2 separate regions of the Homo sapiens genome follow, and region 2 is linked to region 1. Evidence: promoter capture Hi-C in human tissues and cell types (Jung and others, 2019). All regions are on one chromosome and are shown on one strand. Each heading gives the region's core, a stretch centred on a gene start or on the middle of the fragment in contact. The rest is flanking DNA. Distances are from core to core; before and after follow the strand shown. Region 1 holds the start of LRP1B (LDL receptor related protein 1B). Region 2 overlaps LRP1B (LDL receptor related protein 1B).

Region 1 (3,555 bases), core at 728-3,227:
GTAAGAAAGACACCTGCTACGTTGTCCCAGTGAATAAGTTTGTCATACAATACAGAGGTCTGTGGACCCTCGAGAAAGAAACATTTATTACTTGGCACATCATTCAAATCTCTCTCTGTCTCTCTCTCTCTCTCTCTCACACACACACACACACGCGCGCACACACACATATTCTTTAAACTCTGCCACTCATTTCAAAGTTTGTGAATTTTCAGTATGAAGTAAAATATGTAAAAAAATCTTTTTATTCTATATTGTACACTATATTATGAAATAATAAAAACATCTAGGAAAAATTAGACATGTAACAACTTTAGAAGAAAAGAAGCATACACTTCTCTACTAAAAGTACAAAAAAATTAGCCGGGCATGGTCGTGGGCGCCTGTAGTCCTAGCTACTCCGGAGGCTGAGGCAGGAGAATGGCGTGAACCCGGGAGGTGGAGCTTGCAGTGGGCCGAGATCGCGCCACTGCAATCCAGCCTGGGCAACAGAGAGAGACTCCGTCTCAAAAAAAAAAAAAAAAATTAAGCATACACTTTTGAATGTAGGAGTCATATTTCAAACACAAAATGGTTGTATTTTCAAGGGAAAGTAAACTTTATAATTTAAAACATGGAAAAAGTGACATAAAATACATTTATAATCACAGAGTAAGAATAAAAAGGTGAAATCCACAGATTATTGACAATGTTCTGCAAAGTCATCTCTGTGTTCTTTCATCTAGTCCAGTTTTTAATGGCTTCAAAGGAGCATCTAAAGATATTTCTGGATAATTTTACTCTCATAAATAGGTAGATAGTAATGCTGGCATTCACTTATAAGTCTCAAACAGCAAAGTAAATAAAGCTTTTAAAGCATCTTCCTTCACTTTTCAATCGTTCTCTTCCTTAGTTCTGTTCCCTTCTCATAGTTTTCCTCTCCACTCATGTCCAGTTTCAAAATATTAAATATAAAACCTTTTCAACTCTTGTTCTTAGAAGAGAATTCCTGATGTTACAAGGAAGAAAGTAAGTCTACAACTATTAAGATTTCTGAGTTTTAATTCCGTAGCCACTTTGTAATGGCAAACTAAAATTTTAGGGACTGGGATGATCATGTTGTAAACTTAAGTGGTCATAAAAACAACTTTACTAATATTATTATTCCAGTGATTCCCGTTGATGCCTCCGATGGCTCGGGAAAGTTCTTACACCGCCCCTGTAGTATATGGAAAAGGAAAACAAAACAAAACACAAAACAAAAACAACAAAACCCTCAAAGCCTGTTTAAAATGGCTCGAAGTACCCTTTTAAAGACAGAACCCCAGAGAAAAACGCTGCCAATTCGTTGCTTTATTGTTCCCTGCCTGGGGACCTCAATAGCCTTTTCCATTAACCTTCCCTTCTTACGCAACGGTTAATGACTTTGGGGGTTGTTTTGCTTTCTGTTTCTGCTGAGTCACTAAATTTTGCCTCTTTGTCCCCAGGTGCTGCTCAGCATAAAAGTTAAAAGTGCAATTCAGGAAGTACTGGGATTCTGTGTAGAGCCGAGGAAACCATTTCCCTAAGAGAAGCTCTGTTCCTTGGCTTGTCCTTCCTTCCCGGGAAGGAAGCTTCCGAGGAACGAAGGGAGAAGCTTTGTTTTGCCTGCAGAAGCAGCCCTGTGCTCGGCTGAGGGTTCTCAGCTGGCTGTGAACTGCGGAGCATTGTAGGCGCCTGGCTGGCTCAGGCCAATGCAGAAGTCTCTCCCTTCTCCAAAGACCCAAATCCCCACAGAACCAGCTTCGAGTTACTTTCCCTTCAAGGGGATTAAAATAATTGTGATTTGTGGCGCTCTCCGTTCGCGGTGGTATTTTCCTGTTGTGTTAAATGCCTCTTATTAAGTAATAGATGTGATTTATGTGAACGACGAAGGGGTGTGTGGTGGATTCGGTGATTAATCAGTGAATTCCCATCCGCTGGCATCTCTCACTGCCCCTCTTGCGTGATGTAAGATCAGACGTACCCTGCATTGAAAAGTCAAGACACACGGGCGTCTCGCTCGCGCTCACACACGCTCTGCCTCCTCTCTCCCGCACGCGCGCATCCCTCCACCTTCCACATCCTGCTCCAGGCAGGAGAAGGCTGACTGGCTGGACTCATTGAGCTGAAGAATTTCCAGTGACATTTGTAAATGACGCCGCTCGATTCCAGGCTCCAAGCGGCCCCTGCCGCCGCCGCCGCCGCCGGGCCGAAGGTGCCGCCGAGCAGTCTCCAGCGCAGGCTTCCTTACCGGGCGACCACAATGTCCGAGTTTCTCCTCGCCTTACTCACTCTCTCGGGATTATTGCCGATTGCCAGGGTGCTGACCGTGGGAGCCGACCGAGGTAAGGAGAACACCTCCCCGCTCCCCTCCCCTGACTTCCTTGGCTTTCCTGCTGGGCGATGCTTGCAGATAAGTGAGTGTGAAACTTAAGTCCTTGCAGCTCCGCTCCCCGGGACCGGGTGACCACCGTGCGCTGGCCCTGTGCGGGGGTGAGAGGTGCGGTGCGGGATTTCTGAACCAAGTGCCTGAGTCCTCGGCACCCCCACAGCTTTTCCCTTTGGCCGTTTCCCGGTCCCCATTTTGTCCCCTCCGGGAGTGTGTGCACTTGGCTGTGCGCTTCTGTCCGCGAATTCTAAGCGCTGCAGATGTTGGAATGAGAATTCGCATTTCCGAAAGACTTCCCTCCGCGATGGCCCTCAACTGCGAGCTTTTGCGAGCTCCAGGTTCTCCGCGTTAAGCGTGTCCGCCCTCAACTTAGCTCCCAGGTTAACTTCCTTACCTGCTGCATTCGAGGTCCGTGGAGCGGCGAAAGCGCCGATTCAGGCCCCTTTCGTTTCTATAGCCCCTTCCTGGGGGCAGACTGGGGTCAGAGTCCTGTCATCAGCAGAGAGGCTTTTAGGACGATTCCGGGCGCACGCACCTGCTTGAAATTGACTTTTCGATTATGAGGGTCTGTGACACAGCCCAGGTGCTCTGAGGGGCTAACCCACCCCTGGAGTGCCTCTCTCCAGTCTGGCGCTTTGCTTTTCCTTTTTCTCCAAGCAGCTGGTGAATGGTAGAAGTTTAGAAGGGAATGGATATGGGGAGCAGAGGAGAAAGGAGGTAGGAATTAGAAAAAGCCGGGATTCTATAAACTTTTCATCTGGAAAATCAAGAATCCCTGTGCGAGTTTAATAATCTTTGACAACAGATGCACTGGTGAAAAAGGGAGGAAAATACTAGATGAATATTTGGGGCACTGGCCCTGGCCTTGGAATGGTTAACTGGTTAAAGTAAAATCAGAAGTATCATAGATTTTTTTAAAATCAGAAAATGAGCTTATATTGACTGGTATAGTTCAGCTTTTTAGTTTAAATAAGAGAGAGAGAGAGAGAGAGAGAGAGAGAGAGAGAGAGAGAGAGAGAAAGAGAGAAAGAAACCCAGATCCCAATGCCAAGCAAATAGGCAGAATGTTGCATTGGGAGATTTAGTTATTGTATTTACATGAAGCAGATTATGAATTGACAAAAAATATTGCTTCATTATAGGAAAGAACAGGGGAATGAACTGCA
Region 2 (3,555 bases), core at 581-3,080, 81 kb after region 1:
ATGGATATACCTTTGATTGTGTATTTTTGTACTCTATATTCCTAAAACTAAAATTACTAGGTTACAGAGATTCCACATTTAAAATGTACTAAGTCTTACCAAATAGCTCTCTAAATATTGTCTCAGTTTATAATTCCAGCAACCTCCTACGTGAATGTCCTTTCCCCACCCCCTCACCAACAATGTGCCTGTTAGAAAGGCACTACTTGGACTCTTTGGAAGTTACTGCCTCACACTCCTCTACTTTACTGGCCATACTCTCTTCAAATGTTCATATCCTCTTTCATGGTCTTATTCTTAGAAGCTGAACTTAACGTCTTCTCTCAATCTTACATTTTTCTGCCTCTTTCCCACCCCCATTATGTGTTTGCTGATACTTTCTTCACATTATATTTCTCAGGACTGTAACTTTAATATTAATATTGCTCTTTTTCCTGGTGATATTTTCTTGTCACATATTTATTTGTCTGGTAGACTCACACATGATGGAGAAAAAATATTTAATATGAATGAGGTAGAATGTTTGGAGGTATCCTAATTTCCTATATATAAATTTAGTTGGGAAAGGAGTTTATGGGGAGATGGCTACCTCAAAGCAAAAGGTGAAGAATCTTTGTGGTAGTATCCTCAATATATATTGGTTGTGTTGGGCATAGGTGGGAGTTTTACTTCATATAAGCTACTCGTTCAATAGATTTTCTGCCAGTTGATAAAAATTGGTATCAAGTAATTCAGCTAAATGAATCATTTTAAATATTCTCTTTAAGGTAAGTTACTAAGAGAAATAAAATAACCAATCATTTTATATTGGCACAGAGGGATTTTTTAATAACAAAAATTGAATTGTAGGATATGTGATGTCTTGATATTTCACCCTAACACTTATTCAGAATGGCAATTGTAATCTATTGTACAAAAATAGAAGAACATTTATTGTATAATGGCACCTGTCAAAACAATGTTTTCCTATTGTTTTCAGTAACTTTTATGGCTTACACACAAGCTAGAAGGTAAGATTGTATAACTAGATTAGAATTATTAAGGTTTCAAATGATAATATACTTGTTATAGCTTTAAGATTTATTTTGTTACTTGAAACTGGCGAGAAGTGCCACATTTATTACAATTTTAAAGGCAATTGCCATATAAAATATGTATATTATATGCATATGACTATATATGAAATTTCTCTCTGTGTGTGTATACCTATGTATTACATATATGCACATAGAAAGAGAATACTTAATTATGTAATTCAACAGGAAAAAATTAACAGGACATTGATAAGCATAAGCATGCTATTCAAGCAACTAATTTGAAAGCTTAGTGTCCAAATTGAAAAGCAGAGTACCTACTCCTCACAGACTATGTAAGTTTTTACCTTTAGAGCTTCTGATTTCCTCGGTCATAAAGCTTAGCATTGGTGGCCATGCGATAGAAGTGCTTATTTACTTTTACTCTGTAAAGTAATTTATCCACAAGAGGAAGAATCCAACAATCCTCTATCTCTGTATTTTCATCTTTGTACTCATAAAGAATAAGGAAAAGTTGCCATTACTTATACCTGATGGAAGATAGAATGGGTTTTAGACCATCTTAAATGGAATCAGTGTTTCAATAAATGGCTGTTGCCTGTGCATCTGCCACTCTTTCAAATACTTGCTGTAAATTGAATGGGTAGGCAGAGAGCTTCTTCAGAGCAGTGGATGAAACCTTTTAAAGACAATTGGGCAGTCATGGGAATCGTGAGGCATTATAATTAAAAGAAGGAAGAAAGACTATGTCAGCAGAAGGGCTACCACAGACATAGCCAAACACTGTAATACCTCAAGGAGAACGCAGTATTGGCACATACTTTCATGTTAATGTAATCTGATACCATATAGTTCATATAGTATTTGACACTCTTATTGCCATTGTCTTTTGTCTTAACTCTGAATATGTCCTTATGTGATGTATATCAAGCTTTCTTCATACCTTTATAAAAGTTGCAATAAAGCTATATTAGGCTGAGTGGATGTAAGCAAGATATAAGAGTAGTGGAAAGAAAAGAAAAATTCAGACAAATATGATGTGTGCTTTTATTTTTTAATCTCTGTGCTAGCAGAAAACTTCATGCATTGCATATAACAACATATGGAAAGTACAAGGTTTTCTGTGAAATGCTTTGTTGACCATCTGTCTTCTCTGGATTGATTGTTCATGCACTTAGTACTAACACTTTTTGTTAGAAAAAAAGGGGCCTTTTTTTAGTAATCAACTTTCTTTCTGGAGTTCTTGAATATAGTAGCTTCATACATTTAATGAAAATGATCTTTAATCAAATAACAGTTAAAATGCAGTTAAAATTGTCCAATGCTTTGAGACATTTAGAAACTATTGATTTAAACAAATTATTCCCATCCTAAAGTATTTCTACATTTTAGTAGAAGGGGAATTAGTCAGTTAAATTAAACATTTTATTTTTAAACAAGTACTTTTCAGGCCTGATAATTTATGCTTCTAAGTTTTTAATAAAGACATGAATCTTCTCTTTATTAGTCCATTGTAAATACACTCATCTTTTAAGTATGCAATTTTCATTGCCCAATAGTTATTCAACTTAGACCATAAGGTTCTCTTTCATTGATGTCAGTGTCACATTATTTGCCTTGGAAATGAAGAATGTTATAAAAGACTTTCCACGATAGCAATATTTGCTATAAAATGCAATTTTTACATACACTACAAGTAGCAATGACATAAGCTTTAGACTAGTAGCAAGTGTAAATAAACACTTCAAATTTCTATTCTGTATCTTTGTGACAAAATATTTTACAAATGGACAAAAAAGCCTATTTGCTAAATACTTAGGGTGTTTGAAATTCATGTCCATAGTAGAAAGAGTTTCACTCTTTCTTTTAAGAAGAATGTTCAGAAAATAACTTTTGATGGCAGTTGCTGAAACTGCAAAAGTAGGCTAAGTAAAGATCAGTCCATTATGTGCAAGTCAAAACTTATGAGGGGAATCCCTACTGTGCCAATTATTAGCTGTGATGTTGGCCATGTTAGTTAACCTCCAAAAGCTTTACTTTTTCCACCAGAAAAGTAAGTATGTACAAGATGGCATACCTGCAATGCCTAGAAATAAATGGACATTTATAATTCCATTTCCAAATCCCTTTCCTCAACAAGGCAGAAAAAAACTAAAAGACAAAACTTTGCAGATGCTGCCTACTTTTGTAAGACGAATGCAGAGGTGCTTCAGCAAATCTGGAAAACCTTAGAAAATTTAAGCAACAACAGAAAAAATGGTCACTTATGATATAGTAGAATAGTGGCACAGTGGAAAGTCTGGATTTTGACCACTATGTTAGTAATAGACGGTAATACGCTCATACTTATGCATAGGCCTTAGATTATTCAGAGTAGAAAAACTACTGGAACACAAAATCCCAGAATTTCAGTAGTTTGGCATAAAAAAGGTTTATTTATTTATTGTCCAGTCATAATCCAGTGCTGGTCCTGGAGGTCTCAGAGTTCCAGGAGCTTCTATTGGTTCTACCTTTCCCTATG

What was found. Contacts are between HindIII fragments. The study calls those that stand out against the background at their distance.
Region 2: a fragment that was not itself captured here is called in contact with the fragment with the promoter of LRP1B in region 1 in 2 of the 25 tissues and cell types used here (H1 embryonic stem cells and hippocampus).

What each region holds. Positions count from the first base shown.
Region 1 is chr2:142,129,438-142,132,992 of GRCh38, reverse strand. LRP1B (LDL receptor related protein 1B) reads left to right here and starts at 1,977. Exons shown (of 91, transcript NM_018557.3): 1 at 1,977-2,345. The coding sequence starts at 2,264. RefSeq lists an enhancer at 910-2,109. The HindIII fragment of the contact is 3,160 bases long and covers 1-3,057 here.
Region 2 is chr2:142,047,819-142,051,373 of GRCh38, reverse strand. All of the region lies in intron 1 of LRP1B (LDL receptor related protein 1B), which reads left to right. Among named protein-coding and RNA genes, the nearest start is that of LRP1B, 81 kb to the left of the region's middle. The HindIII fragment of the contact is 3,706 bases long and covers 1-3,555 here.